3 separate regions of the Homo sapiens genome follow, and all the other regions are linked to region 1. Evidence: promoter capture Hi-C in 16 types of primary human blood cells and fetal thymus (Javierre and others, 2016). All regions are on one chromosome and are shown on one strand. Each heading gives the region's core, a stretch centred on a gene start or on the middle of the fragment in contact. The rest is flanking DNA. Distances are from core to core; before and after follow the strand shown.

Evidence for each region. Contacts are between HindIII fragments. The CHiCAGO score rates a contact against its expected background, and 5 or more counts as called.
Region 2: a contact is called between a fragment that was not itself captured here and the fragment with the promoter of NMNAT3 in region 1, in 1 of 17 cell types (endothelial precursors). The highest score is 5.8, in endothelial precursors.
Region 3: a contact is called between a fragment that was not itself captured here and the fragment with the promoter of NMNAT3 in region 1, in 2 of 17 cell types (monocytes and naive B cells). The highest score is 7.1, in monocytes.

What each region holds. Positions count from the first base shown.
Region 1 is chr3:139,676,487-139,679,708 of GRCh38, forward strand. NMNAT3 (nicotinamide nucleotide adenylyltransferase 3) reads right to left here and starts at 1,486. Exons shown (of 7, transcript NM_001401600.1): 1 at 1,219-1,486. RefSeq lists a silencer at 1,540-1,589. The HindIII fragment of the contact is 2,876 bases long and covers 59-2,934 here.
Region 2 is chr3:140,878,538-140,881,759 of GRCh38, forward strand. No RefSeq gene overlaps it. Among named protein-coding and RNA genes, the nearest start is that of SLC25A36, 62 kb to the right of the region's middle. The HindIII fragment of the contact is 1,058 bases long and covers 1,260-2,317 here.
Region 3 is chr3:140,846,728-140,849,949 of GRCh38, forward strand. No RefSeq gene overlaps it. Among named protein-coding and RNA genes, the nearest start is that of SLC25A36, 93 kb to the right of the region's middle. The HindIII fragment of the contact is 8,464 bases long and covers 1-3,222 here.

The DNA of each region.
Region 1 (3,222 bases), core at 236-2,735:
GAGCTGTGTGAACCATACCTTCAGGGGCTCCTGGGTGGCTTTCTGAGAAAAACAGAGAAGCTTTCCCCTGCAAGGCCAGTGGGTAAGAACCCTTTCTCTGGGTTGTGCCAGGGTGGAACTGTCACTTTATTTCACCTGGCCCACCGGACATGGGCTCCAGGAGGGCAGGGCCCCTGTCTGATTTCTCTCTGAATCCTCAGAGCCAGGGTAAAGTGGGCGCCAGTTAAATGTTTCAAGAATGAACAACTAAACCAGTCATCATTTTAGAGAACAGGCTGTTTGAGAGATTCTACTCAGAACCACTTATTTGATAGAGGAAGAAACAGGACTCAAGGAGAGGGGAAGTGACTTTGCTGAGAGGCAGGCACACTGTGTTTAGTCCAGAACAACATCAAGCCTTGGATGTTTAGTGCAGAGTAACATCCAGCACCCATCACGCAGTGCTAAGTCATTTACATTCACCATTTCCATTCTCAATGGGTAGAACAATCCCATTTTACAGAGGAGAACGTTAAGGTTAAGGAACTTGCTTTCCCCCCAGCTCTCTGCAGGCCAGCCCCACCAACCCTCCTTTCCTCAAGCCACATTCTCTCCCAACAAAATGAGTTTGCTCTGTTGTTCCCCGCCCGGGAATTCTCTAAAGTTTTAGTTCCAGCAGCCTTTGTAGCTGGGGGCCCTGATAAAATCTCTCCAGCACCCTAGAATTTCAATCTTCATAGCTCTGACCACAGTTTTAACGTTCACACTTGTTTGCATAGATATCCATTTGCTGTCGGTCTCCCCCCACTGGACTGTGAGCTGCACGGGGGAGGGCACCACATTTTTTGGCCTGCTACTGTAACCCCAGCACTTAGCCCAGCAGCGGACACTGAGTGGAACACGTTAAGTATTTGTTAGACACTGTGCTTATATTTTTAACCTTTGAGTGCACGAGTGCTAAAGGTGGGATCCGAACCCACGTCTCCGGGACTCTGGTCATAGCCAAAGGGGAGCTGGGGGTTAGGTTGACACGCTGCAGCGAGAACCGCCGGCGCGCAGAGGCAGCGCGGAGCTGTCCCCCCGGTTCGCGCCACCCCGGATGGCTCCGCACTCCGCCGCCACCTGTCGCCCCAGCGGGGACTCCCAGGACTCAGTTAGGGGCCAGGAGTCACGTGGGCCCGGGCATTCAGCCGCGATCCAGGTCCTAGTGGGCTGACGAGGGGCCCACGCTGCGCTTACCTGCTATTTGCAGGGCTCAGCAACGGCGCTCGGCGAGTCTCGGGGGACTGCGGGGGACTAGGGGACCTGCTGGGCCTAGCAGGGGCTGTCGGTCAGCGCGCGGCCCGGCGCCCGAGGTCCGAGAGGGAAACGACGTTTGGTCTCGGGACTCAAGGCTGCCTCCGGCCCGGGCAGCCTCAGGTCTAGATCCCCTAGTACCTGAGCTGGAGGCGGGGCCAAGGCGAACTTGACCTTGCGCTCCCTTAGCGGCCCCGGGCAGATGGAGTCTGAGGGAAACAGATCTGCGCCCCGCCCCTTCGCTGGGGCGGGCCCTAAGGAGACCCGGCCCTGGCCCCGCCCAGGGTCCTAAGCCCCGCCCTCTCCCCTGCCCCCGCCCCCGCCCGCTGGCTCCCAACCGCCAAGGCTCTTTTGTGTTGCGTGCGTGTTTGCTTTTTTATTCTCCTGTTTTGTATTCTGTTTGTTTTGTATTTTTATTTAATTTTCTTTTAAAAAAATACATGAAAGTAACGCCCACTTACTTATTAGAAAATAAAATTATCTAGATTTGCTTATAATGAAAGCAACAGGCCACTTCTCCCTCCCATCACAGCTCTTTTTAACAATTCCTCCGTTAATTTCTTCTAGTGGTCACCCGCTTGTCGCAAAAAAAAAATAAATAAATAAAATAAAAAAATAAAAAAAGAAACTTACATAGCGATTTCTTGATTTATCCATTGACTTTCTGCCATGTTATATGAGGATCTACTCTCTTACTGCGCGGCCCCTGTTTCCTTCTGACAAATTTACACCTCTATTCTCAAGCCCTGCCCTGGTAAACGCCAGACCTCAAAGCAGGGAAGGATTTCTGGGGCCTGAAGCATACACAGTTGTGTGGGGAGAAGGAAGGGAGGGCTGCTTAAGAAAGAGAAGACAGAATTAGGGCTTGCCAGTGAACATTTATTTGGAATGAGAAAATAAATCTTAACAGAATCCTGGGGTCTTAGAGATTGGGGTCCCTATCCCCTAAAACCTTCTTAGGAAATTTAGGTCCCAAATTTGCTTCCCTAACGCAGTCTGGCTTCCTCTGCCCACCCAGAACTCTCCATAAGCCCCCAGGGCTCATGGGAGCCTTGCAGAGAGAGGCCTTGAAGGACAAGATTCACTAGATTCTGCCAATACAGTTTCCTAATGGAGTGAATTGGAGTGTGCGAAAAAGAGAGACATCAAGGATGATGTCAAGGTTTTTTGATTGCTGTACACTTAATTTCCAGCGTTTCCTAGACACAGGAACACAACCTCATCTTAGTATGGAGAGTGTTTTATAAGCCTGTCCACATCACCAGAGCCTCACGGTGCACCCATGAAGTTGGCTGGACGGGTGCACTGTCCACAGTTTTAGGAGGCCCATAAATTTGTCCCTTGTGTATTAGCACCGGGGGCATGCAACTTGCACCCAATAAGTACCCAGGTAAATGGTACTTCCCCACTCAGTCTGAAGACACAGTGTCCGTGCCCTCTCGGATCCCTTTTCTCTTACCTGTGGTGTAAAATGTGGCTCCAGAAGGTGATCTTGGACAAGTCTCTTTACTTCCCAAGCCTCACTTTCCTTTCGTATAATGGGAGGTAACAACCCCTACCGCACTGAGTTTTGGGGAGGATTAAGTGGCTTAACATCTTTGGATATTCTTTAATTGATAAGTCAGCTTATTTCCCAGCAGGGTGGGAGGCTCATGAGAAAGCTTAGGGATTTCTGAGAATCTTGTGTAGCATGTAGTACCACAGGTTGATTAGAGGCCTTCGATTAAAATCGTGGGCTGAAGAGTCATTCTGGGTCAGGGCCCTAGGCCAGGGAGGGAGAAGCTGCACACAGAGAGCAGAGAAGAGGCTGGGCAATGACTTCCTCATGCAAGGGAAGCTTTCTCTGCCTGAGGTAGTGAAGACTAAAGCTTGGTCTAGGAGGAAGCCTGGTTTCCTAGGCAAGAAAAAAGGAATGAATTAATGGCATTCACAGCAACTGGATGAGAT
Region 2 (3,222 bases), core at 539-3,038, 1.2 Mb after region 1:
ACTAAAGGTTTGTAAACGCACCAATCAGCACTCTGTAAAAACGGACCAATCAGCACTCTGTAAAATGGGGCAATCAGCACCCTGTAAAACGGACCAATCAGGAGGATGAGGGCGGGGCCAAATAAGGGAATAAAAGCTGGCCACCCGAGCCAGTGGCGGCAACCTTCTCAGGTCCCCTTCCACGCTGTGGAAGCTTTTTTCTTTCACTCTTCACAATAAATCTTGCTGCTGCTCACTCTTTGGGTCCACACTACCTTTATGAGCTGTAACACTCACTGCAAAGGTCTGCAGCTTCACTCCTGAAGCCAGTGAGACCACAAACCCACCGGGAGGAACAAACAACTCTGGACGCACCACCTTTAAGAGCTGTAATGCTCACTGTGAAGGTCTGTGGCTTCACTCCTGAAGTCAGCGAGACCACGAGCCCACCAGAAGGAAGAAACTCCTCCAGACACATCTGAACATCTGAAAACACAAACTCCGGACACACCATCTTTAAGAACTGCAACACTCACTGCGAGGGTCCATGGCTTCATTCTTGAAGTCAGCGAGACCAAGAACCCCTCGGAGAGAACCAATTCCAGACATAATACCTATGGCCCCTTGGGGATTTCTCCACAGACAGTTGACAGAATAGAAAAGGAGCAGGAAAAGGGCTTTATAAGGATTAGGCTAGCATGATATGCTGGCGTGAGCTAAAAATATGGACTGTTGCTGCACTAAAGACACACCCAAAATAACTCTGGGTGCCAATTCAAGTCCAGTGGTCATCTGCTTTGTGTCTGGAGAGAAGCGGCCAAAAGTAAGAATATACACAGACTTCTAGGTGGTGGAGAATGGCTTGGTTGCTTGGTCAAGGGCCTCAAGGGAACAACACTAGAGGATTGAAACCAAGCATGTCTGAGGAAGAGGCATGTGGCTGGAGCTATAAGAATGGGCACATAATGTGTTGATCTTTGTGTCTCACACTAGAGCCCACCAGAGAGCACGTGTGGCAGAAGAAGCACTGAATAAGCATATGGACAGGATGACTGGTCTAATGAATGCCTGTCAGCCCCTGTCCTCAGCCATCTCAATCCTTACAAAGGGCCCATAAATGAATGGATTAGTCGTGATGGCCTGAAATGATGGGCTCTCTCTCTCCAAGGCTGATCTAGCTACCACCACTACTGAATGCCTGACCATTAGCAACAGACACCAATGCTGAGTGCTTGATATGGTACAATCCCTTGAGGACATAAAGCAGCCACTCAGTGGCAAGCTTATTACCCAAGGTCTCTTCCACCCTGGAGGACACAACAATTCATCCTTACTAGAAATGAGAATGTCAACTTATAAACATAGAAGAAATGAAGGTATAAGAAAATCATTATTTTGAAACCATCATAATGATGGTTCATGCAGACAAAAATCAATAATGAATATGCATTTGTAAAAGTTTGATGAGGAGAAGGATATGTCCACCATTTCAAAGTACCTCCCCCAAATTACTTATTTATTACAGAAAGTAAAATAGTAACTTTACTATGTAGAAAACTACTGGACACCATCTTAACCAAGTGATCAAAGTTACAATCCCAAATCATCATCAGTTGACTCCTACCATTATGCACTGAGAAGCAAACAATATCACTTATGTAGTACTTTTACCAAAAAAAAAAAAAAAAAAAAATGCATAGGCCAAATCTGACCAGGGGAAACACGAGACAAATTCAAGATGAGCAACTTCTACAAAATAACTATCTGTAGTCTCTAAGATATAAACGTTGTGAAAGACCAAGGAAACCCTGAGGAACTATTCCAGATTGAAGGAAATCTAAGGGCTAAGAGTGATGATAACTAAAAGCAACATTCTTCTTGGACCAGAAGAAACAATGCTATGAAAAGCATTATTGAACAACTAGCAAAAGTGGAATGTGGACTATATGTCAAATTGTTTAATGCTTAAACATCGAGTTTCTTTAATTCATTAATTATACTGTGGTCATATAAAAGAGTTATCTTGTTGTTAGGAAATAAATACTGAATTACTAAGGTTTGAAGGAGCATAATGTCTCTAACTTATTCTCAAATGATTCAGGGGGAAAAGAAATAAATATACATGTGCGTGTGTCAAATATATATATTTCACGTGAAATATATATACATTTATATTACATATATTTTCATATATATGATATAAAGATGAATGATAAAGCAAATATAGCAAAATATTAACAATGGGTGAATCTGGTTAAAAGATATACATGAATTATTTAGTATGATTCTTATAATTTTTCTGTAAGTTTGAAATTACTTCAATATAAAAATGTAAATAAGCTTTAAGAATAAAGGATAAGAAAATATATTGTAGAGCCAGGTGCAGTGGCTTATGCCTGTAATCCCAGCACTTTGGGAGGCCAAGGCAGGAAGATTACTTGAGGTCAGGAGTTGGAAACCAGCCTGGCTAACATGGCGAAACCCCTTCTCTACTAAAAATACAAAAATTAGCCAGGCTTGGTGGCAGACACCTGTAATCCCAGCTACTCAGGAGGCTGAGGCAGGAGAATCCCTTGAACCTGTGAGGCAGAGGTTGCAGTGAGCCGAGATCATGCCATTGCACTCCCAGCCTGGCCACAGAGCGAGCATCCGTCTAAAAAAAAAAATTATAAGTGAACTCCCATTCACAATTGCTACAAAGAGGAAAAAAATGCCTAGGAATACAACTTACAAGGGATGTGAAGGACCTCTTCAAGGAGAACTACAAACCACTGCTCAAGGAAATAAGAGAGGATACAAAAAATTGGAAAAAAAATTCCATGCTCATGGATAGGAAAAATTGATATCGTGAAAATGGCCATACTACCCAAAGTAATTTACAGATTCAATGCTATCCCCATCAAGCTACCATTGATTTTCTTCACAGAATAAAACACTACTTTAAATTTCATATTGAACCAAAAAAGAACCCACATAGCCATGACAATCCTAAGCAAAAATAACAAAGCCTGAGGCCTCACACTACCTGATACAAGGCTCAGTAGCCAAAACAGCATGGTACTGGTACCAAAACAGATATATAGATCAATGGAACAGAACAGAGGCCTCAGAAATAATGCCACACATCTACAACCATCTGATCTTTGACAAACCTAACAAAAACAAGCAATGGGGAAAGGAGTCACTATTTAATAAATGGTGTTGGGAAAACTGGCTAGCCATATGCAGAAAGCTGAAACTGGA
Region 3 (3,222 bases), core at 295-2,794, 1.2 Mb after region 1:
AGAAGTGAAATGGTAGTTGGAAAAAGATTGGGGATTGAGAAAATTTTGTAAAGAACTAGAGGTAGTTACAAAGAAGCCGTTACTGTGTCTGCTATATAAATTGGATGACTGTTAAACAGTTCTCAGTTAAAAGCTCTCAGTTAAACAGTGTTCCCAGGCTTTAAAATGTTCATTCTGTGGAACTAGATGTTCCCCAAGGTTCCTTCCATATCTGTCCTTCTAAAATTCTACAAGTACTCCTTTTTCAAAAGTCATAAAGAAAATATCCAGGACTGATATTCAAGCAGCTCCTCCTCATTTTCTTCTCAATTCATTTGATCATTAATTTATTCATTCATTTCCCTAGAAGGTGAGTGCCACAAGGGCAGGATTTTTGTTCTTTGCAGATGGGCACGTAATAGGTGGTCAATAAATATTTGCTTAATGAATTAACAAATGCATAGATTCAATCAGCAGGCATAGAGTACCTACACATGTGGAGCTCACTCAAAACCACTCAACAAACATTCAGCACCCAACAAATGCCAGGCTCTATGCTAAACACAACTCAGTCAGCCTCTTCTTAAAGTGGAAAAAATTAGGATCTGTTCTACCTGCTTCACAAGGCCATTATGAGAATCAAATGGGAAATACAGGCTCTGAAGAAAACTTTGCAATAAACAGGGGGTGTAAAAAAGACTTTGCAAATACCATAGTACCTTAGAAAGATCAAATGTTATTAATAAACATGGCTCTGCCCTCAAGAAGTTTGTAGTGAAATTAAAGAAATGAGAAAAACATATGAGAGAGATGTAATCACTGTTTTGTGGGTACCTAAGTGTGCCTCAGGCAGTAGAATGCTTTACATGCCTTCTCTCGCCCCACCATTGTACCCACACCTGAGATGGGTATCAATACCTTCAGCATGTAGATGCAGAGACCAACGTCTGACAGGTTAAATCACTCAGCTAGTAGGAGACAAAATGGATGAAAAGCTAGGTCTGTTTCTTTTTCTAAAATATTTTCTTTCACACAAAAGTAAATCTTAGGAAGCATTTGAAACCATTGTCCCTGAATACTAGCAATGAGTAGGTGAGGGAGGCGGGAACTATCATTTACTGCATGCTTACTTGACGCTGAACTCTCTATATAGATATCATTTAACTCTTATTTGTGACATAAGGCTTACATCCATTTGGTACACGAACACAAATTTCAACTGAGGTCTCCAATTCACTGATAATAACTAAAGTAGGCTTAAGCAGCACCTGTTATTTTGTGGAAAACCCAATGCTATTTTCAAGGTTTTGGAAAATTCCCAGGGATTTCATGTCTTGAGGTAAATTCTAGTTCCAAACACACTTACCTCAACACATGCTGTGCCCACAGCTGATCTCCCCCTTCTGCTGGGCACCAGTGCAGACCTGAGATGCAGAGCCTTTGATTTCACGCAGAGATCACTCTCGCAAAGCATTAAAAAGCATATGGTAGGCTTTGCGTTATGTTTTGGGAGACAGAATAGCTTTACATCCTAGCAAAGTAAACAGCGTAAGATTGACTAGCAGACAACCTTGCCCATCATATCCTTTGTTCAGGTGACTCTAGGAGTTTCTCACTGTTAATTTTTCTGCAGACACTCCAGCCTTCCCCTGAAGACACTCCTCACATGTGATTCCCCTTGTGAACACCTACGGAATTGCCTATGTAGAAGCACTTATTTTAAATCCTGCCCCTTATCCATCTGTAATAATCCTGGGGGTTTACACGGTTCTTACATTACCCCAGTGACTGGTCAAGTTGTGGCCATCTATTCCATGTTCAGCCAATGAGGCCCCTCCCTGGGCATTTTGGAATCGGGACCAGAGAAGCAATTGGGTCAGCCCCTCTCTGACGGCATCCAGCACCTCTAGTGATTGATAAATTTCAGCATCAGCTTAAGCCAATGTAAGCTGCTGCTTAAGCATCAGCTGAAATGTATCAATCTCTAGAGGTGCTGAATGCCATGTTTCAGCAGAAAAAGAAAGCCAGTTTTCAGGGAGAGAATGAAGCATGTTTACAAAAAGGAGCCAAGAGGAGAAAAAACAAGATATGAAAAGAGAGATAGTCATGACAGTACCCAAGACACTCATTTTGGAGTTCCCAGAGCCCAGACACATCCGTGTTCTTCAGCTCCATCTCTTGGGCTGTCAGCTTCTAGCAACTGCTGGTGAATTTGAAATGTGATCCTCCTTTTCTCCTCCACCAATCTTTGTATGTAAATGAAAGCAGTAGAGAATTATCTCCCTCCACCATATGAATTATGCCAATCATGTTAGAAGATACAATCAGTTTACTCTTAGTGAAGAACTCAGCTAACACAGACAACCCCTGCCAGCTCTGACAGAAGCAAGGACACCCTATAATGCTTTCTACCAGGCATCCTACCCAGCCCCAGCAAGAGTCAGATGTCAGGGTTCTTCCCATCAACCTCATGCCCAGGTAGGATATGGCTTACACTGCTGACTTAGCTGGTGGGGTGGACACTGTCCAGGAAGCCTTGTCTGTCATCTCACAATGCACAAAAGGGAATGGAGTATCAAGGAATTTAAAGAACTTGCTAAAGTCAGAACAAGTAAGAAGAGGTAGAATTTGAAATTGGGTATGCTTGTGTGTCATTAACATGATGGTGGGACAGAAGTGCAGGCCCAAGTGCAGACCCAAGAAAGCAGGGCTGGGGGATGAGGATGGGAGAAACCCATCTACCAGGGGTCTATAGAGCTTTGCCTTTTCCATATTGTTATTTCTTTTCTCCTTCCTCCTTTATTCTTCTCCTACAATCGCTTCCTTCCTCTACCTTCTCCTCCAACCCTTCTGAGCCCCAGGACTCCAACTGGCATGGAGGAACACAAGTGGCTCCACTCTGACTACTGACCATCCCCCTGAGGCCAGTCAAGAGACCTTGAGCCCTCACCCTAGAAAACAAGACAATCTTGTGCAGAGGACACTGTGATCCACTAAGGACAAGGCACAGCAAAGAGAATTCCAAGTGAAAAAAAACAAAGGAGGCTGAAGAGAGGGCTACACATTGCTCACCACAGTCCTTGAATAGCCTTCCTTGGCTTTCTCTGGAATCCCCTCTCTTCTCATTCTCTGAAAAGGGAAGGCTAAGAAGGTATATCACAGTCTTCTATCTATCAAAGCAAAAGGGTTGTTCTTAGTCCTAAACAAGTTAATCCCAGCTTCTGTCCTGACTTCCACAGGAGC